Regions from separate parts of the Homo sapiens genome. Here regions 1, 2, 3 and 5 are each linked to region 4. Evidence: promoter capture Hi-C in 16 types of primary human blood cells and fetal thymus (Javierre and others, 2016). All regions are on one chromosome and are shown on one strand. The core of a region is centred on a gene start or on the middle of the fragment in contact, and the rest is flanking DNA. Distances in the headings are between cores, read along the strand shown.

What was found. Contacts are between HindIII fragments. The CHiCAGO score rates a contact against its expected background, and 5 or more counts as called.
Region 1: a fragment that was not itself captured here is called in contact with the fragment with the promoter of CYP2U1 in region 4 in 4 of 17 cell types (M1 macrophages, monocytes, M2 macrophages and 1 more); the score reaches 5.9 in M1 macrophages.
Region 2: a contact is called between a fragment that was not itself captured here and the fragment with the promoter of CYP2U1 in region 4, in 1 of 17 cell types (monocytes). The highest score is 6.4, in monocytes.
Region 3: a fragment that was not itself captured here is called in contact with the fragment with the promoter of CYP2U1 in region 4 in 2 of 17 cell types (monocytes and M0 macrophages); the score reaches 6.7 in monocytes.
Region 5: a contact is called between a fragment that was not itself captured here and the fragment with the promoter of CYP2U1 in region 4, in 1 of 17 cell types (monocytes). The highest score is 7.0, in monocytes.

The regions. Positions count from the first base shown.
Region 1 is chr4:107,764,056-107,768,552 of GRCh38, reverse strand. No RefSeq gene overlaps it. Among named protein-coding and RNA genes, the nearest start is that of PAPSS1, 46 kb to the right of the region's middle. The HindIII fragment of the contact is 977 bases long and covers 1,524-2,500 here.
Region 2 is chr4:107,796,109-107,800,670 of GRCh38, reverse strand. No RefSeq gene overlaps it. Among named protein-coding and RNA genes, the nearest start is that of SGMS2, 27 kb to the left of the region's middle. The HindIII fragment of the contact is 3,653 bases long and covers 764-4,416 here.
Region 3 is chr4:107,747,096-107,751,579 of GRCh38, reverse strand. No RefSeq gene overlaps it. Among named protein-coding and RNA genes, the nearest start is that of PAPSS1, 29 kb to the right of the region's middle. The HindIII fragment of the contact is 872 bases long and covers 998-1,869 here.
Region 4 is chr4:107,930,293-107,934,376 of GRCh38, reverse strand. It overlaps CYP2U1 (cytochrome P450 family 2 subfamily U member 1), which reads right to left and starts at 2,828. Exons shown (of 5, transcript NM_183075.3): 1 at 2,244-2,828. The coding sequence starts at 2,733. CYP2U1-AS1 (CYP2U1 and SGMS2 antisense RNA 1) reads left to right here and starts at 2,258. Exons shown (of 7, transcript NR_125929.1): 1 at 2,258-2,406. The region is part of intron 1 of LOC107986298 (a long non-coding RNA gene); the gene reads left to right. LOC124900751 (a long non-coding RNA gene) reads left to right here and starts at 2,792. Exons shown (of 2, transcript XR_007058221.1): 1 at 2,792-3,404. RefSeq lists enhancers at 2,091-2,160, 2,221-2,290, 2,951-3,458 and a silencer at 2,501-3,090. The HindIII fragment of the contact is 6,450 bases long and covers 1-4,084 here.
Region 5 is chr4:107,728,348-107,732,695 of GRCh38, reverse strand. No RefSeq gene overlaps it. Among named protein-coding and RNA genes, the nearest start is that of PAPSS1, 10 kb to the right of the region's middle. The HindIII fragment of the contact is 8,704 bases long and covers 1-4,348 here.

The DNA of each region.
Region 1 (4,497 bases), core at 763-3,262, 170 kb after region 4:
TTTCACTTACTACTTTGAAATTGTTTCTATCAATATACATAGAACTAATCCATTTGTTTTAGTGGCTGAACACTATTCCAATTATATCACTTTCCAACTGAGGCTGATATTGTTCTCCAGGGATATTTGGCAATGTCAGAAGGTATTTTTTGGTTGTCACAACTGGAGGGAGGTGTTGGCTACTGGCATCCAGTGGATACAGTTTAGGGACAACCCACTACAACAAAGAATTATCCTGCTCAAAATGTCAATAGTACTAAAACTGAGAAACCCTGTGGCATACTTTCATTTAACCTGGTCCATATTTTTCTAAACTAAAATTCAGCTAAAAGTATTAATAATCAGAAATTTGATTATGCACTTTTGCACTCTAATTTCTATAAGCTAAAAGAGTTGGAAAAAGAAAGTCTGAAGTTGACAATTCTAGATGATTTTGAGTATTCATAGAGACTTCTGCCTATTTGTGAAACCCTTAAGGACTCTGAGAAGGGCAAAACTGAGAAGGCCCAAAGTTTTTGATTGATCTTGTTCAGTCCCAGAAAACATTATTTGATTGACCTGGTTCAGTCTCTCCCTTGGAGTGATAACATATCAAAATAGAAAGCTGACTTTCATTTGCCTAATTAAAATACTGGTAATCCAGAACGCGTTCAACTCCAGAGAAAATTGGGCTCTCTTCATTTCCCTTTAAATAAGGAGGACTGATGGGACTGGCGAGTCTCCTGTTTGATCAGGAGCAATTTTAAAAAGCTACTAGGGTGGACCATCTTTGAAGATGTAATTACCTCATAAGTTCTATTTAGATTGTCTGTATTTATCTATGTTTTTCAAAAATAATCAAAGTAATATATGCTTGTGGTAATTCAAATAATGCTGAAAAATACAAAATAAAAGTTTCTCTCCTGCCCAGCCTAATCTTACTTCCTAAGGATAACCATTATCAAGAGTTTATTATATATTTTTCTAGATGTATTTTTATGTCTGTACAAACATCTGTGTATATATTTATTATAAATACACACATATAGTATTTTTCCCACAAAAAATGAGCTCTATTAATTTACCAAAGACTTATATTTCCATTCCCATCCCATCATTCATCAATTTGTCATGGATTATTCTCCAAGGCAGCCCAAACAGATCTAACTCATGTTTTAAATGACCATATACTGTGTTATGTAGTAAATCAAAATTTATTTGGTAATTACCCTATTGTTGGTAATTTAGATCATTGCCAATTTCTCCTATTTGATAATTCAGCAAAGAGCGACATGACATATATAATTTACACACTTCTATAATTGCTTCTCAAGGATAGATTCTAGAAGTAAATTCGCCAGGTCAGGGAATTTAAGTATTCCCAGTGCATAAAAGTGCCTATTTGCCCGAACCTACTAAAACAAGTAAAAAGAAATTTAAATGACTAATAATAGAGACACAAATGAAATAATTATGGTGCTATAATAGATTAGTTATATGATATTAATAGATACATTATTGCATAAATACTAAAATATTAAGCTTAAAGGAAGTTTTAAATGTGAAAATGTTTATAACATACAGGGTAAATAGTAGAATGCTTTGTATATAAAATTATGTGTGTATAATTTCTACTACTAGTTCCTACTACTAGTTATGTGTGTATAATTTCTACTACTAGTTTCATTGCTGAAACTAGTAGTGTGACATAATTATGTTTCCTTTCCTTTCCCCTGGAGCCAATAATTTTGTCAATTATTCATTCACTTGTCTTCTAAATGCGATTTCACATATTCCAATGCTTGTCAGATAATCTGAGTGCCATTTTGAATTTATTTCCAGAAATCTTTACTCTCCTGCTCCAATCTTGACTGGTTGCCTTGTAGTTCCATTTTATGCTTCGTTACTCTGGCACTTTCTTTTGATATTTTCCTGGGAAATCTCCTCAGCTGTCTTCTCTGTGGAAGCCCATGTTTCCAGAATCCTAGCTTCTTCTTTACTGATTTTCTCCCTATTTGAGAATTTACATGCCTGAAAATGGCTTTGAATCTGTAGCATATTCTCAGGGGTCATTCAGTTTCTGTCTTGAAAGTTTCTCAAAGTCTTGTCCCTGGGATGTGTGTGTGTCTGGCTGCGAGTATTTGGGGACAGGGAATGAGGGCTGGCAGGGATTGGGGGTGTGTTTCTCTGGTAAATATATAGATTCCACCTAATCCACCTATTTTCAGTCCCATATCTCCTCTTGAATCTTTCTGTTCCCATTGTCTGTAAGCCTAAATTCTTTGTGATTCATGTTCTGTAAGGAATAAATCTCAAGTCTGAGAATTTGGAAGGGGATGTTGAGGCTTTTCAGGGTCTAACCACCTCTTACACAGAATTTCCAATGATTCTCTTAATTCCAGACCTGGGCTTTGTACTCCCTTTCTGCAAAACCCAATTCTTGAGCCTTTGCAGCTTGGTTCTGTTTCCTCCTTCTAAAGAAACAGGTTCAGCTTCCTCTATTCCCCTGAGTAATCAAGCTTTCCATCCTCCAAAATACACTGATGTTTCCTGACCCCCTGTGTCTTCTCTCCTGTAATTTTGATTCTTTTAGGCCTATATATTTTAAATATTATTATTGTCATATTAATAGGCATTCAGGAGAGAATAGAAGTGATACATCTATTCAATTCACCAGGTCAAACCAGAAATCTCCATTTCTATTTAAATAATCCTGTGGCATTATCTTTTTCTTTTCTTTTTCTTTCTATTAAGAAATTTTTTTCAAAGATAATTTTGGCAGAAATATAAGTAATGAATTAAGACATTATCTTTTATTTCAAAACATAGTGATTAAAATAAGAGTAGCATTTTGATTCTTTGAGCTATTTTGAACATGGGATTTTTAGTTGGTCACAGATGACTTTTTATTGTTCCCCTGAATATCCCTTTCTTCCACTATGCCTCTTCATAATCAGTTTGTTACATCAGTTCAAATGCAACATTGCTATGTCTCTGTGAGTATCATCTCTTCCTAAATCCTTCAATTTCTCCAAAATTACATTTCTCAGGAAATTCACTTTAGTTGTCATAACTTCTCCATATCGTTCTATTTGTGTAGAACACAGTGACTGTAGCAAAGCTGTCAGAGTAAAAACAAGACAATAGTTAGCTTACTAGTTCTTGTACCTGTAACTCCCAGAATTTTATAGTGAATTTCTTTTAAAATCCTCCACTTGAATATCTGCCTTCATCTCTGACGTTGTCTGCATTTAGTACAGGAAGCAAGGAAAGGAGAAAGGATAGATAATATTGTGTTAATTAATATGTTCATGTTGGGCTGGGTACATTGGCTCACGCCTATAATCCCAACATTTTGGAAGATCAGGGCCAAAGGATTGCTTGAGGCCAGGCGTTTGAGACCAGCCTGGGCAATGTAACAAGACTCTGTCTTTACAAAAAATAAAAATAAAAAATTAGCTGGGCATAATGACCCATACCTGTAGCCTAGCTACTTGGGAGGCTGAGGTGAGAGGATTGCTTGAAACCAGGAGTTGAAGGTTACAGTGAGCTATGATTGCGCCACTCAACCCCAGACTGGGTGACATAGTGAGACCTTGTCTCTAAAGAAAAGTACCATATTGATATAAAAATAAGATAATGATAAATAGTTGATGTAAAATATAAATAATTAATATTCACAAAATTAAACACAGAAACAAGTAACCAAAAGAATTTCCCACATACCAACAACTAGTATAGTATAGTACTTTGGCAATATTTCTATTATTTTAGAGAGATAGATTGTCTCTATATACTGTTTACATAGAAAAAGTTTCAAGTTTTGGATACCAAACAATTGATGTTATTTAATTTTTTCACTGAATTGACTCTTAGTGATGTATAAACATCATTAAATTTGCTCTACTTTTCATACTTTTTGAGTTCAGTTTCATGCATGGTGGGCTTAAGTTAGCTGTGTGTATATGCTCATTCCTATAAAAGAGTTGACACTGAAAAATTAAAATTTCACTCAATCATTGACTTATAACAGTTCTTTTATTATATACCTTATAGTGAAGCTGTCCTTGAACAAACTGGCTGCTCAATATATATTTAATTGAGTTTTTAAAATTTGTTTAGGGATGTTGGTACATAAAAACTGGCAAACTATACGGGAAGTTGTACAAGCTAGTTGTACATATATCATGTAAGAATGATTTTTTGTATAATGACTTCTTTTTCTCTGGGTAGACACACAGTAGTGAGATTCCTGGATCAAATGGTAATTCTACTTTTAGTTTTTTTTAAGGAATCTCCACACTGCAATTGCAAAAATATGGAACCAGCCCAAACACCCATCAATTAATGATTGGATAAGGAAATTGTGGTGTATATGTATATACCATGGAATACTACTCAGCCATAAAAAGGAATGAATTAATGGCATTTACAACAACCTGGATGGAACTGGAGACTATCATTCTAAGTGAAGTAACTCAGGAATGGAAAACAAACCTCGTATGTTCTCACTCATAA
Region 2 (4,562 bases), core at 1,341-3,840, 130 kb after region 4:
AAGCCTCTTAGTACTAGCCAAATATTTAAAATTCTATGCACATATTGATAAAAATCATTTACACATTACAACTTTTTTTCCTTTTTTTTTCAGTAAGATTGAAGGAGAGGTGAAGAAGGAGATATAGGAAGTGTAGACAATTCCTTCAGGAAGCTTTGCCTGCAAAGTGTAGCAAGGGGTTGGGGCAGCAGTCCAAACATTTAAGGGAGGACTTAAACTTAAAAAAATTATACTAATAATATTTAGTTAACCCATCAATTAGTGCAGGGTTTATAATGAAGAGCAAAGTCCCCTGCTCCACCCTTTCCAACTCATTGTTTTCTGTTCACTTATAAACATTTCAATGCTGGCTGCTCTCAGTGCCCTACTGTCCACATGACTGCAGTTTCCTGCCCTGTGAGAGGAAGACAGCGATATCTGCTAAGGGACAGGGGCAACCGCTCTCCAGTGAGGGAGTGACTGCCGCTGGCACAATCCTCTGCCCTGTTCTTCCCACCACCCAAGCCCTTCGGAGGGAATGAGTGCCCAGAGGGGAGGCTAGGAAGTCAGAAGTAAGAGCATTTCCACAGTAGTGCTCTGCAAAATCCTGTGGACTCTCAGAATCACAACGTCCCACTAGGAAAATGCCGGTGCAAAGGTGAAAGAAAAAAGTCAATTCCATTTGCAGCGTCGCTGAAAGTGAGAACCGAATTTGATTGGGGAAGTGAAATGATTATCTCTGCCCCTCTTGAGGAGCAAAGGAAAAAATGAGCTCAAAAAAGCTTTTCTGTTGACATCATTGTCCAGTCCTCCTGTGACTGTAATTATTAATATAAGCAGGCATAGAGTAGTTCTTGGGGTGACGCTTCTACTGAGAGTATTGTGGGTAGGGATGTATTTTATTGCACTCAAGTGCCTATAACCATAACAATATGTTATAAGCATATAATGTTTACTTTCTGAACATTGGTGAAGCAACCATCCTGCTATAGAACAACCAAAACTGTAAAAGATTTCAAGACAAAAATCTCCTTAGGAAAATGACTTAGCTGGCCTGCAGATCATTATCTAATGATTTTTAAAGATTATATTTTAAATTACTTGGCATCCTGTGCTTCTCCTTTTCCCCACCACATTTAAGAGGATGATAGATCTATCTAGTTTAATGTAATATAACCCATTATATAAAGTACTGAAGTTGAATACTGAATAGGCAGGACTAGTGCAAATATATATACCACTGCTCTACAGTGGGAATTCATTTTGGAGGCAGGTTCTGGTAAGTAACAAAACATATACGCTGAAAAGGGTTGGGAAGAACCTTCCTCTCTGATGTTTCCCATGATACTGTCAGTCATACCGAAATGTTGACAGGGGCGTAAAGGCACCTCATCTTTTAGTTGTGCATGTGATTACATCAGCCTAGAAAGGGGAGCTCAGATAACTTCCGGGACTGGACATTTACTGGACAGTAAAATGGGAGAGATGGTGAGTCCCAAGAGTATATACATGAAATTAAACCTACACGTACACATACACATACGTATACACACACACACCAGCCACATCGTGTTGTCCAAACAAGGATCTGCTGGTCACATCCTTCCTAAAGGCTACCAATTTATGATCTTTTCTTAGCTGTAGGAAAATTTCTCTGTCCAAACTGTGGGATCAAAACAGATCTCAAGAGTCAGCAGGATGTCTGACTCCATCCTGGAACAGAGAGATTTTGTCCTAAGGTAGTTAATCCAAAATGATTGCCTGAAGTCCCACTCATCCTTCAAGGCCTGCTCAAGTCCAACTCCTCTTTGAAATCATCCCATCTTCCTGTGAGGCTGTGCCTTACCTTCCGCAGGTAGGTAGGCTGTGTTCTGGTGTTACAGTCATTCCAGTGTCTTCTATTTCTGTGGCTGGGACATGTGTCCGCTTCAGCGTGTGGATCTCAATGCCCGGCCTTCCCTCTAAGCCCTATTAAACGCTTTGTAAAATTTAAACTAAGGGATTTCTGAGCATTTTGATTGGCTTATAGAAATTATAAAAGATTCTAGAACTATATCCAAATGAAAGAGTACCTCCCACTCAAAATATTCTCTCAGACCCAAATTGGTGTTCTTCAGAACACTAGTCCCAAGAAGTGCTCCCTGAAAAGTGCTCTGTGGTCAAACGCTGTGCTCCATATCCTGATTAACAGTCACAAGACATGTTGGCATTGTAAGGACTCTGAGAAGATTAGAAGAGATTAAAGAAAACACTTCTTTTCACCCAGGGTTCTCTTGATAAATTTGACCACAGAATCCCTTTCCTTTTATTATTATTTTTTAATTGGAGAAAAGGCATACAAACTTATTAACATGTACATAGGGAGGACCACAGTGATTACCCTTAGACTCCCATTTAATAGAACCATTTGATGACTTATTCCTTGGAATGTAGCCCTTGGGGAGGCAGCACCCCTTAGTGGGCAAGGATGTAGACTCTGGCCCCAGGCTGCCTGCAGTTCAGTCCTCAGCATTCATTGTCCTTGGGAAAGGTATGTGACCTCTTCATGCCTAAACTCTCTTACCTATAAAATGGGCATAATAATAGGACATATTCTTGTAGGCTTATTATGAAGATTACATGCATTAATACGTGTAAAGTATGTGCCTCAGCCTAGATTTGGGGTTTAGGCTAGAAAATCAGGACTCTCTCCCCACTCCAAATTCAGGAACGACTGAGACTTAAGATACACATCAAATGATTCGCTTTGCTACCAATGAAATCTGTTGAGAAAAGGGGACCCCCTTCCTGGCCATACCCACTTCACATCTATTCAATTCAACACTTTTAGTCACTGAACAGGATGAACATGCAGGTTTCTTTGTAGGGGAAGGCAGTCTACGGCAGGGTGAGTGGAGAAAGTGTTTTGTGTACCAGTTGGCTAGAGCTCAGAACAGAAATATATGGTCTCACAGCGCTGGAGACTACAAGTCTGAAATTAAGATGTCAGTGGGGACCATGCTCCCTCTGAAGCCTACGGGGGAAGAATCCTTCCTTGCCTCTTCCAGCTTCTGGTAGCCCCACACATGCCTTGGCTTGTGGTGGCATTAACTCTAATCTCTGCCTTCATTGTCACATGGTATTCTGCCTGCCTCTTGACTTTACCTTCCCTCTTCTTGCGTCTGTCTCTGTCCAGATTTCCTCATTTTATAAGGAAACCCATCATATTGAATTAGGGACCACACTAATAACCTCATTTTAACATGATTACCTCATTAAAGACCCTATTTCCAAATAAGGTCACATTCTAAGGCATTGGGGGGTTGGGAATTTAACATCTGTTTCGTAGGGGAACACAATTCAGCCTATAGCATTCTGAGATCAGGCCCTCTAAAAGAGAGAGAAAAGTGACCAAAGACCAATGCTATTTCTTCTTTCCTATGTCACCAATCAGAGATATCATTCCCCCTTTCTTGGGAAGGAGATGGGGAGGGGTCAGGAGAGTCCAGAAGTGTTTCTAGTCCTTTCCTCCAAGGGCTGGAGTTTAGAAATTTCTCTCTTTCCCTATGAAAAATGAAGAGGTAGGGACAGAATTCCTCACCCCCATCCCCAAAACATAACCCAAAGATAGCTTTGGGATTAAATAGGTATTTGGAACTGCCTGTGGCCATACCTTAAAATTTGTCAGTTGGAGTCCCTTCTTCTATCCTGGGGCTCAACAGTATACCTGTTTGTACTGAAAAAACTCGTTTCCTAGACACTGGGAGACTTGAATACTCTTTCATGTTGCACTAGTGGCCACCTCGAATTGGCTATGTTTTTGGGACCTATGTCCTTCCAAGCCTGATTTTGTTGTTGTTGTTGCCAACACACTCATTGGTCTTGGAAACAGCTTTTAACAGCTAATGCGCAACAACAATTTTTATTTATATTTTTAGCAAAAACTCCGGAGAGTGAAATTAATATTCAATAATGAGAAAAAAATGGAGTTACACATGGGGCAAAGATCATTTTAAATAGCAATGGATAGAACAAGCCTGATAGCTTCATTTGGGGAGAGGAGCTAACAACTGGTAAGTGTTCACCAAGTGCTTGTATTAACTCATTTAGTCCTTGAGTTCTCACACCCTGTGAGGCTTAGATACTGGGCTGTGGGGTTGGGGCATCTGTCTCCAGAGTTTGCATTCTTAACCGCTGAGCTACACAGCCTCCATTGTATAAATTAGAGCAGATTTCGCTTACCTCTTTACTGTCAGAGTAGTTTGTATACGTTCTTCCACAGCACTTAATAAATTCGAAATAATCCCCCTTCCTTTGACCTCTTCTTACTCCTTAGATTGTAAGTCCCTCCAGGACAGGAACCTGTCTATGCTCATCTTTATTGGCTAGTTTGCTGTCTCTCACTTTGTAGGTAAGTTTTTAGTTAAATGAATGAATACTATTCTTGCCAAAGAAGCTTTTGAAGAGTTTTCTGTTCTACACAGTTATCACAGTCTTTCTTCTTATTTATTTATTTTGCTGTTTTATAATCTGCCAGAATTATCATAGTCTTGAAAGTAACATGATTCATGTATGGTGATTGCTTCAAACCCAGAAACAAAAAT
Region 3 (4,484 bases), core at 184-2,683, 180 kb after region 4:
GTAGAATCTAATTTATGATTAGAAGGTAAAGGAAAGTTAACACTAGGCACTGTATGCTAACCAATGAGGTAACATAGAGTACTACTGTTGCTTGATAGAAATAAATTCTTATAGGAACCAGAGAGATGCCAGTCTGCCTGAATTATAATACTTCCATTAAATATGTGTTATACTCCAGCATTTGTCCTGGAATTGTCAGATGAAAGACAGATCAAAAGGTCAAAACTGAAGAATTGAAGCCAACATGTTAAAAAGAAACACAAAACAAAGTAGACAACCCTATGATAGCCTCCAAACACTTGGTTGAAAGAAATAGGAAAAAAATGCCCTCTTTCTTCCAGTTTTTCCTTAAACAACATTATTAACTTTGTGCTTTATTGGACATAATGTTATTTAGTGCATCTTTTTGTATTCTCTTGAAATGTGTTACTGTAATTCCAAAATGAAAACTTAGTCTTAAATATTTAAATTCTTATTAAACAACTCTGCTTAGTCATTTGCATATACTAAAACATCTGTATGAAATAATTTGTGTAAATATCAGAAAGTCATGCCTAGTAATGTTAACCAAGAAGAATGCAGCTTTAATGTAAGGACAGAAGAACTGTGATTTAGGATCCTGTGCATCTTATGCTACTAGGCTGCTCAGCCTAGAAAAGGGTGAGTTCTAAAATGGGGAAGATTCTCACCATTATAACATAGTAATGCAACATCTGGGCTTCTGAGTGGCTTGCTTGAAATGAATGTGTGGGTTTTTTTTCAGGACTCTGCATCACAAAAACGCAGGATATTATAACCTACTCGGTATTTTGGACATCGAAGGAGAAAAGGACTAGAAGTTATGGGAAGGTTGAGCAAAAGAGAAGGAGAAAGGAAGAGGATGAGGAGGAGAAGGAGAAGAGAAGAGGAGGAAGAGGAGGAGGAGAAGGAGAAGGAGTACTGTGTTTCACTAGTGCATTTTACCTTCTGCACGGTAAATAATTAGTACCCCCAAGCTTATAAATAACAGGATGGTGTCCTCTGACTAAAATTAGGGCTAGTTTTTATGTTAGGAATTTATAATTTCCTAATTGCTATTGAGATTTCTTGCAGCATAAACAAACAGATGTGCTTTTAATTAGATTAGCCTCTTATAAACAAATGCGTGTCTCAAGTTCAATCCAATTTTTTCTTAGTTTCTTATTGTATGCAAGCATTTTAATTTGTTTACTGCAAGAAATATGTACAATTAAATTGGTTTCTCTGTGATTAAATATTTTATAACTTTTATTTGATTTTTAATTTTTACTGATAAAGAGGTACAAAAGTAAATGAATGAAAATTATTATAATAAACCATGAAATTATTTAAGTCTCTATAAATAAATGATATTTAAAGTATTTCCTCTAAAATGGGTCATTTCTGAAATAGACATATGTGTTTATAAATGTAATCTTGGTGCAATACATTGTTTATGTAGTAATTTTTCCAGAATAGTTAATATTTTTTTAACTATTGCTGCCTAATAAACTACTTCAAAACTTAGTGGCTTAAAACAACAAGCATTTTATCATCTCACACAATTTTGTGCATTGGGCATTTGGCTTGGACATACAGAGAGGGCTCATCTTGGATTTGCTTGATAGCTACTGGGACTGGGACATCCAAGAAGGCTTCTTTACTCCCATGTCTGTCACTTCATCTAGGATGGCATGAATGATGGCATCTGGCTAATGCTCAACAGGGTCATATATCTGGGACTTCGGTTCTTCCTGCAGGGTGGGTTCCTTGGTCTTTTCCAAATAGTCTGAGAACCTCTTTTTCTCCATGTGGCCTCTTCATGCAGTTTTTCCAGCAAGGTAGCCACACTTCTTAAGAGGCTGTGAAGCTTGAGTCTGGAACTGGCATACAGTCACTTCTACCGCATTCTGTTGGCTAAGTAAGTCGTCACAAGTTCAGCCTGGATTCAAAGTAGGTGAGGACTACATAGGAGTATGAATACCAGGATATGTGGTTCATCAGGGGTAGGGGGTAACTGTGGAGACTAGCTACAATACATGTGTCCTTTGACAGTGTGATTTCCTGGATCTTCAACTGTATACTTAAGTGTCTCTCAAGATGTATGTTTTGTGTAATATGAGGCTTAAGAAATGTTTTTCAGAAAAAGAGCACTCGTATTATAAATTTGAGAGATAGTACAATCTATAGCCCTTCACTTGGGCTCACTGGCATGTTAAAAGTGGTAAGAGTTTTGCAGCATAAAAATCTGTTTAATTTGTGTAACACAGCGTTCCTCAGATATTTAAGAGTATAGAACTGTGCCTGGAACTTAGTAATCATTCATAAATATTTGTGGAATGAAATTTATCAGAAGATCCTTTTTCACAAAATGCACACTGCATTCCCAATGAAGTGGTGTTTCCACTGAAGGAACTTTGGGAACACTGGTCTATTATGGAAAAGAGTAGTATGTGATTCATTTTCTTCCTGACCCATGGCTTCTATCTGGGTGTTTCCTAGTGAATTGGTTGTTGCACTTTAAATGACATGATCCCATCTCCTGGTCCCAGGTGACAAGACCCAACTGAGCACCTGACCCAAAGGCAGCCATTCGTAGCTCAGCCAGCAATGATAAGGAAGCCTAGCACAAAATCTTTCTAAAAGGGGGAAGATTCTCACCATTATCAAATAGTATTGCAACATCTGGGTTTCTGAGTGGCTTGCTTGAAATTAATGTGTGGGTTTTTGAGGACTCTACATCACAAAAACTCAGGATACTGTGACCTACTCAGTGTTTTGGAGCCCCCAAAGAGAAAAGGACTAGAGGTTATAGGAAGGCTGAGCAAAAGGGATGGAGAAAGAAAGAGGATGAGGAGGAGAAGGAGAAAACATGAGTAGCTTAAATTGGATTGTGATAGGCAGATCAAATTATATCTTCTCTTTTGAGTAGTTTGAATTTGAGAAAATCAGTCAATTAGTTGGTAGGGGTAAGACAAATAGCAGCAGAAGCTAAGAGTAACTGAGTTTCCATTATATGCAGTCCTAGGGTGCTCTGCCTATTTTCTGGTTGTGTGGCTGCTGAAAACACCTCCTTTCCCCTTTTCTTCCCTCCATCTTTAGAATAAAACTCCATTAACTGACACAACCTGTCTCAATTTCTTATTATGGGAAAGAGTCTAACTGTACGTAACATCAGGAAAAGAGTATATGCACTCTTGTTCAGAGTGAGAAAACACTCCTTCAGTTGTTTAGCTCGGGGAGAAGTGCCACTACTACATGTCCCTTCACCAATGTGCAAGCCCAGTGGGGACTTCTATTGGGAAACCCAACTACAAGTCATGCTGGTAAACCAGCTGGTTAGGCAGCTTTTTCAACTGCTGGAGGAAATGCTTTTGTCAATAGCTGCAGAAAATAAAAATTGCTCTAGGTGAGAATGTTTCTTTAAAGGATCTCTGAAATATATGCTGAAAATTATAGTTTTGAGCATGTTATTTCCCCTGGATGACTATCGGAAAATAATGAGAAAAGTAATTATTTAATTAACTTAAATAGAAGAAGGAGGCAATGAGTGGAAAGAGAGAGCACATGGACACCCATGAAGCTGGAACTGTGCCAATGTTAACTAATTACCAAAACAGAGCTATCTAGGGAACAATGGAAAACCAGGAGATAGGTTCTGCTGGCATGCTCCCTAGTCTGAGTATACGGTGAAGTCAAAATGCAACCACTCTCTAGGATATTTATTAGAAAGAGGGAGCAGGTAATATCACCCAGATAATTCATTTTAAGTCCACAGAAGTGAGAAGAAGCAATAGAATACTGATATAACACCATGTCAATCACTGGTAAGGCGGCATTAACGAAGTTGAGATGCCAGAGGTAAACAGAATTTGCCAGCTGTTGTTGTTTGAAAAGGTTCAGTGGATGTTGAGCATTTGAGGATTTAACATGAGACAGAAGCATATTTGCATTGGGCTGCCAGGATTCTTTTTTAAAAAAATAGTCTTTTTTGGGGCAATTTTAGATTTGTAGAAAAATGAAGCAGACAGTACAGAATTAATACATACCCCCAAACCCAATTTTTCCAATTGTTAACATCTTACCTTAGTATGGTACATTTGTTATACTTAATGAACTAATATTGATGCGTTATTGTTAACAAAGATCAAGTTTGTCAAGATTTCCTTAGCTTTACCTACATTTTCTGTTTCGGGATCCCATCTAGAACACGACATTATGTTTATTTGTCATATCTCATTAGTCTCCTCTTGGCTATGACAGTTTCTTAGCCTTTCTTTATTTTTGATGACCTTAACTGATTTGAGGAGTACTGTCCAGGTATTTTGTTGTATCCCACTGTTGGAATTTATCTATCTGCTATTTTTCTCATATCTCAACTGGGGTTATAGGTTTTGGAGAGAAAGATTACAAAGGTGCAGTGTCATTTCATCACATCGTGTCAAAGCTACATACTATCAACGTGATTTATTACTGTTGATTTTGAT
Region 4 (4,084 bases), core at 1,579-4,078:
GGATGTAGCACACATATCTGCTGTAGGAGTCAGTAAGACTTATGGATTGATTAGAAGGGACTGGGAAGGTCTTAAAATGAAACAATGGTATCATAGAAGTTCATCTCCTTCTGCAGGGTAGGGAAGCATCTCAGGGTACACATTCTCAAAGAGGTAACATTTAAGCCCAATCTTAAAAGCAAGTGTGAAAAAAAAAAAAAAAAGAAGTGTTGGTGAGGACGTGGAGAAATTGGGACCCCTGTGGGAATGTAAACTGGTGCACTCACTGTAAAATAGTATGATGGTTCTTCAAAAAATTAAACCTAGAATTACCACATGATCAAGTAACTCCTAGGGACTCAGATATTTGCCCCCTTCTATTTATAGCAGCATTATTCACAATAGCCCAAAGTTGGAGGCACAAGTGTCTATCAATGGATGAATGGGTAAACAAAATGTGGTATATACAGTCGACCCTCCACATTTATGGGTTCCACATCTGTTGGTTCCACCAACCGCAGATCAAAAAAACACATCTGTACTGAATGTGTAGACTTTTTTTCTTGTCATTCCTTAAACAATACTGTATAACAACTATTTACAAAGCATTTACATTGTAGTAGGTATTATAAATAATCTAGAGATGATTTAAAGTATCCAAGAGGATATGCATAGGCTATATGCAAATACTACACCATTTTATATCAGGGACTTGAGCATCCTAGGGTTTTGTTATTCGCAGGAGGTCCTGGAAGGAATCCCCTACAGATAAGGAGGGATGATTGTACATATGATGGAATATTAGTCTTCAAAAGAAAATTTTCACATATGCCACAACATGGATGAACACTAAGACATTATCTAAGGATTTTAAATGAGTAGGGATAAAGATCATAATACTTTAAATGCCCCACTGAAAAACAAATGTCACAGTTCACACCTCATCCACTACATGCCTTCGTAATACTGCTTCTACCTAAAATTCTCTTCTGAGCTCATGGGTGCCTGGAGAAAACCTACCTGCTTTTCTTTTCTTTTTTAAAAATTGTGGTGAAATACATATAAAATTTACCATCTTAACCATTTTTAAGTGCACACCTTAATGGCATTAGGTACTGTCACACTGTTGTGCAACCATTGCTACCATCCATCCATAGAACTTTTTTCATCTTGCAAAACTGAGACTTTCTGTCCCTATGAATTTCACTACGCTAGGAGGCACCTCATATAAGTGGATCATACAATATTTGTCTTTTCCGTTTAAAATCCTGATGCAAAACTCTGGCTTTATCAGATTCTGAAAAGCCTAGATCTTTCTTTGCCATGTTATAGGGGCAGGAAATAGCATTCATTTAATAGATACTTGAACTCCTACTATGTTTCAGACAGCAATGACTCTGTCCTCCTAGATGTCAGAACAGTGGTGAAGACTGACATCCAGGCCCAAGGTCATAAAGTTATGTAGCGTCAGTTTTGAAAAGTGTAGTGAAGGAAAAGTGCTTGGGCAAGGGACCTGGTTCTAACAAGGGAGGCTACCCTACTTGCAGAGGCTGTGAGAAAAGGCTTCCCCAAGGAAAAGGCATTTAACACCTGACTGATGCGTAGGAGTGACTCAGAAAAGAAGTCAGAGACCTAAGCCAGCCAGTAAGACAAAGGGGGACGGTAGAGACAGGTTAGATTGGACATTTTATTGCAGCAGATAACACGTTTTCCAACCCCCAAAAATGTCCAATTTAGACTCCCATACGCAGGAATCAGAGGCTATGAACCAAAGCCGGAGATTTGGTAATAGGCTTCTTCTGTGTTTTCTGGACTTTTTATCTTATTGGAAATTATCTTCTTAAATTCTTACATTCGAAACCCACAAGGTAAAAAGAATATCCTTCCCTCTTTCTAACATGGGGGCCAAAGTTTCTCTCCGAGGTCACAGCTGGTGGAAGGGAAGGCTACTTTTGGAAAGATGGAACCTGGCTTGCCACCTTGTCCTTCCGCCATCCCTATTACTCTCCCTCAATCTCCGGATGACTTTTCTACTTATGATCTTGGAGTATGAGCAAGTCACGCGTCCGTCACTACTTGATGGGATCTTAAAGGCATCAGAAAGGAGAAGCGCCGCCACCACCATCACCTGTTAGTTCAGGATGCAGGTGTGAGGCAGCCTGGGGGCGCGGGCGGCCGGAAGGGGCACAGGAACTGCAGCCCCCACGCACCTGGAGACTCATCCGCGGCATCCGCGTACCCACAGCCCACGACCTCCCGCTCACCCTTCTCCTTGGTCACGATGGAGATGAGCGGCACCCGCGGGCGGTCGCTGAAGACCTCGGCCTGCTGCACCAGCGCCTCGCGCACGCTGTGGAAGTCGCTGAGGACCACCACCAGGTAGTGGCCGATAAAGAAGCTGAAGATGCTGCCGTACACGCGGGCTAGGTGAGCCAGGAGCACCTGCGGGCCTATGACCGAGGGATCAATCCCTGCGGCCCTGGTCCTGCTGCTCAGCCAGCTCCGCCGCCGGAGGAAGGGAGGCAGCAGCACGTGACCGAAGTTGCCCACCAGAGGCCAGGGCGTGGGCCCGGGCGGGATGCCCCGCGCCCGGCGCCTCCGCAGCCAGCTCCAGCCCAGCAGCGCTACGAGGCCGCATAGCAGCAGCGCGCCCCCGCTGGGGTCCAGCCGCAGCAGCCCCAGAGGCGCACGCAGGAGGCGCGCGGGCCAGGGCGGGTCCTCGGCCGGCGGCTGCGACGGCCCCGGAGACGACATGGTCCGGGCGCCGGCGGCCTCGGGTTCCCCTTGCTGCCTGGAGGAGACGCGCACGCAGCTGCCTGACCCGCGGCGCCAGTGTCCTGCTCTGCTCTGGAAGGTCGGGGGCGGGCAGGGGGTGTAGGAACGCCCCCGGATTGGCTGCGCCGCGCGCATTCTCCCCGCCGCCGCCACTCAGCGACGCCTGGGCGGAACCTGGAGGCGCGCCGGCTGCCTGGCGGAGGGGGTTGGCGGGCTAGCAGGCGGGGGACCTGAAGTTTGCCCCGAAGTCCGGTTACGACCCTTTGCAGGGTCGGGCTTGGCGGTGACTGTCCCTGAAACTGGGATGCTGGCAACACAACCTTGCGCTCTGATTGGCTGTTGGTTTCCCTTGTGTCATTCGTTTGTCATTATCACTCGTTTGTCAGTTGACAAACACAAACGCATGGTTATGAAGTGCATAAACCGTGTTAGGATCTGTACTGAGTGTGGGAAACTGGTGAACAGGCCCGTGAGATGGGTCGGCCTTAGCACCTGTGCCCTGAGCTGGGAGAATGGGGTCAACGCCCTATTCCTGCATGCTTCGGTGTAGTAGTGAAAAGACGGGGTTCCTTATCTAAACTGGGATTCGCAGCACCCTTTCCTCCACGCAGAGACAGCAGGATGCTGGGAAGCCGTGGAATGCAGAATCTGTGGGTGTCGGCTTGGCAGCCAACTCTGCGGAAGGGATGATGGCGGGAGTGGGGGGAGCGAGGGGCGGGCAGCGAGGCACGAGGAGTCACGTTCTGAGAGCTTGCCCTGGGCTAGAAAACTTATGCGGAGAGCGAAAGCTGTGTCCATTCCTGCGTGTGGCCTGGGTGCATTAGAAAATGTACTTAAATCCAGAAATAGCGAAACCAGAATTTGCTTGGTGGATTTAAGTAGCTAGAAATATGAAAAGAAGATAACCGGTTGAGGGAGGGGTGGCAATATTATTATTGGTGTTAGACAACACTTGAAAGGCTGAGGTTGAAATATTAGATATGAATTGTATAATACTTTAAAAACAAAGTATTACTTTATTTTATCTTCTCAGATAATGGCTTTCCTGATAAGGGCTTCCCTTTCAGTCTTGTTTAGGCCAAATCCTGTAGTTTCTGTTCAAGTTGGATTGAGCATAGAATTGTCTGTACTGGGCCATTTTTCTAGCCGTTTCATTTTTCTCCATACATTAAAAGTTTGAACACCACGCTGTACCTATAAAAATGTGATCAAAGAAAGCATAGTGAGTCCTCAAATAAATACATGATCCATTTTATTTTTCTATAAACAAGTGATGCCAGTAGGATATGTTAAATTTCAAGTCCACTCTGTTCTCATATTCTTTTTGACA
Region 5 (4,348 bases), core at 673-3,172, 200 kb after region 4:
CTAATTCATTTTTATTCCTGACTCTTTGTTCATGAACTCTTCTTCTCTTTAGAGGCTTGCAGGGTTTCCAAACAATTTCGAACTATTGTATAACAGTATTCTGAAACTTCATGGTGCTATGCTTTATGCTTTTTCCGTGCTTGATTTTATCTGTTGAGTTAGGCATTCAGGGAGGCATTTCAGTTCTAGGAAATTTCATTAAATAATTGCCATGGTTATTTCCTTCTGTGCGTTTTCTCTGTTTTTTTTTTTTTTCTTCGTAGAACTTCTAATACTTGGATGTTAGATTTCCTGGACTGTTCTTTTCTTTCTTTTCTAAAAAATTATGCTGTATTTCCCATCTCTTGGGATTTTTGCTCTGCATTCTGAAAGATGTATCAACCATTTTCCCCCATTCCTGCTACCATATTCAGGAAACCAATTTTGGTTCCTGAATATTTATGGCTTTGCCATTTCACTGATAAATCTTTCAGCATATATCTCACTAATATGTTTTGGCTCTGTGTCCCTACCCAAATCTCATCTTGAATTGTAATCTTGACGTGGAGGGAAGGAGGTGATTGGATCATGGTAGTAGTTTTCCCCATGCTGTTCTCATGATAGCGAGTGAGTTCTGACAAGATCTGGTGGTTTTATAAGTGGCAGTTTTTCCTGTTGTTTGCTCTTCTACCTCCATGTAAGATGTGCTTGCTTCCCCTTCCATCATGATTGTAACTTTCCTGAGGCCTCCCCAGCCATGTGAAACTGTGAGTCAATTAAACCTCTTTCCTTTATAAATTACCCAGTCTTGGGTATTTCTTTCTAGCAGTGGGAAAATGGACTAATATACTCTTAACTGACTTATTTAAAAAATATAATAACACTGCTATTTATCACACCAAAAAAGTAAGTCTTTTATATCGAGTTCAGAAACTCTTCAAATTTCCCATATAGTCTCATAAATTTTTAAAAAATTTCTTTTGTTTGGATCAGTGTTCAAATATGTTTCAAATATTTTAATTGCTCCATTTTTATTTTATATCTTATTTTATTCTTTAGTTTTTCCTCATTTATTTTTTCCTATCTTTGAATTACTGAAAACTCAGGTCATTAATGTTGTAGTTTTCCAGAGTTTGGGTTTGACTAATTGCATTTGTGGTGTTTTCACCTCTTCCTCTTTCCTCTGCATTAACTGCAAACCTATAAATTGTCCTGAAGACTTGATTAGAACCAGATTTGATTTGACTTTTTCATGATTTTCATCAGGAGGCAAAAAGTTATGGTGTTCTTTATTTTCATGATATTTGCAGCCATTGAGGATGTGACGGTTAATACTGAGAGTCAATGTGATTGCATTGAAGGATGCAATATTGATCATGGGTGTGTCTATAAGGTTGTTGCCCAAGGAGATTAACATTTGAGTCAGTAGGCTGGGGGGAAGGCAGATCTACCCTTAATCGAGTGGGCACCATCTAGTCAGCTGCCAGTGAATATAAAGCAGGCAGAAAAACGTGAAGAGGCAAGATGGGCCTAGCCTCCCAGCCTACATCTTTCTCCCATGCTGGATGCTTCCTGGTCTTGAATATCAGACTCCAAGTTGTTCAGTTTTGGGACTCAGACTGGCTCTCCTTGTTCCTCAGCTTGCAGACAGCTGAGGACCTTGTGATTGTGGGACCTTGTGATTGTGTAAGTTAATACTTAATAACTCATTTATATATATATCTATATATCTATGAGTTTAAGTAAAAAAAAATATGTATATATATCTCCTATTAATTCTGTCCCTCTAAGAGAACCCTGACTAATACAGATTTTGGTACCAGGAGTGGTTCTAGAGGAATAGAATATTAAGGATGGAGTTCTTTCATTGGTTTTGGGGTTTCTGGAGTTGTCTTCTTAATATGATTAGACCAAAAAATGCTAAGGACTCTACTTCTAATAATATGGAGAACACCGATAGTCCTTGGCAGAAACTGTTTAGAGAGTTACGCCAAATAAATACATTTGACACTCCTGATTCACCGCTCGTGAGAGGCAAGGAGTTTAGTGACTATACAGAATACCCTTGACCATATGTGGAGAACCAAGGAGCATAATGAAGCTAGTTGGTTGCTCCTAAGTCCAGTGGACAAAGTGATAAAACAAAATGATACACTCAGGGATTTTGTCTCCCAGCTTCAGAAGAAGATACTGAGCCTCAAGTCTGCTAAGATTGCCCTAAGTGAGATTCTTATCTCCTGCAGAGAAACTGCTATAATTGTGGAAAAACAGACACAAACTCTTATCATGCGAGTGGCTGACCTGCAATGAAAGATGCATGCAGAGCTTCGCCAGGTGCCTACTGTTAAAGTGAGGGCATTGATTGGAAAAGAATGGAACCCTGCAACTTGGAATGGGGATGTGTGTTGGGGCGGGTGGGGGGGGGGGCCTGATGAAGCTGGGACACTGAGTTTGTAAACTCTGATTAACCTTTTTTGCCAGAAGAAACAGCTTCCCCATCTCCAGTAGTGGCAACATCCCCTCCCTGACCCATGCTGCCATCAGCCTTTTCACCTTTGTCTGAGGAGATAAATCCTGCACTGCCTGAGGCAACAGCGATGGCTTCCCCTGAGGCAGTTGCCAGTCAAGATAATGATGGTTTTTCTCAGAAGCCACCCCCAACACCTCTGTTTGCCTCTAGATCTGTAAATAGACTGAAGTCCCAGCGGACCCCTAGAGGTGAGGTTGAAAGTGTGACCGATGGGGAGGTGCGCTACACTGGAAAATAACTGTTTGAGTTCTCTAATTTATTTATTTATTTTTATTTATTTATTTTTTGAGATGGAGTCTCACTTCTCAGGCTGGAGTACAGTGGTGCCATCTCGGCTCACGGCAAGCTCTGCCTCCCGGGTTCACGCCATTCTCCTGCCTCAGCCTCCCAAGTAGCTGGGACTACAGGTGCCTGCCACCATGCCCGGCTAATTTTTTTGTATTTTTTAGTAGAGATGGGGTTTCACCATATTAGCCAGGATGGTGTGAGGAAAAGAAAGAGAGATCAGACTGTTACTGTGTCTATGTAGAAAAACGAAGACATAAGAAACTCCATTCTGATCTGTACAAAGAAAAATTGTTCTGCTTTGAGATGCTGTTAACCTGTAACTTTAGCCCCAACACTGTGCTCACAGAAACATGTGCTGTATTGAGTCAAAGTTTAAGGGATTTAGGGCTGTGCAGGATGTGCCTTGTTAACAATATGTTTGCAGGCAGTATGCTTGGTAAAAGTCATTGCCGTTCTCCATTCTCTATTAACCAGGGACACAATGCACTGTGGAAAGCCACAGGAACCTCTGCCCAAGAAAGCCTGGGTATTGTCCAAGGTTTCCCTCCACTGACACAGCCTGAGATATGGCCTCGTGGGAAGGGAAAGACATTACCATCCCCCCCAGCCTGACACCCGTAAAGGGTCTGTGCTGAGGAGGATTGGTAAAAGAGGAAGGCCCTTTGCAGTTGAGATAAGAGGAGGGCCTCTGTTTCCCACATGTCCCTGGGAATGAAATGTCTTGGTGTAAAGCCGACCATTCATTCTATTCTGAGATAGGAGAAAACTGCCCTGTGGCTGGAGGCAAGATATGCTGGCAGCAATACTGCTCTGTTACTCTTTGCTACACTGAGATGTTTGGGTAAAGAGAAACATAAATCTAGCCTACATGCACATCGAGGTATAGTACCTTCCCTTGAACTTATTTATAATGCAGATTCCTTTACTCACATGTTTTCCTGCTGACCTTCTCCCCACCATCATCCTGTTCACCCTGTTCTGCTGCACTCCCCTTGCTGAGATAGTGAAAATAGTAATCAATAAATACTACAGGAACTTGGAGACTGGCACCGGTGCAGGTCCTCACATGCTGAGTGTGCCTGTCCCCTGGGCCCACTGTTCTTTCTCTATTCTTTGTCTCTGTGTCTTATTTCTTTTCTCAGTCTCTCATCTCCACCTTACGAGAAATTCTCACAGGTGTGGAGGGGCAGGCCCCCTTCAGATCGTCTCGATCTCCTGACCTCGTGATTAGCCCGCCTCGGGCTCCCAAAGTGCTGGGATTACAGGCGTGAGCCACCGTGCCCAGCCTGAGTTCTCTAATTTATATAAATAGCAATCTGGAGAACAAGCATGGGAATGGATATTAAGGGTGTGGGATAATGGTGGAAGGAACATAGAGTTGGATCAGACTGAATGTATTGATTTGGGTGCACTAAGTAGGGATTCTGCATTTAAAGTTGCAGTTCAGGGAGTTAAAAAAGGTTCTAATAGTTTATTTGCTTGGTTAACTGAAATATGGATTAAAAGATGGCCCACTGTGAGTGAGCTGGAAATGCCTGATCTCCCTTGGTT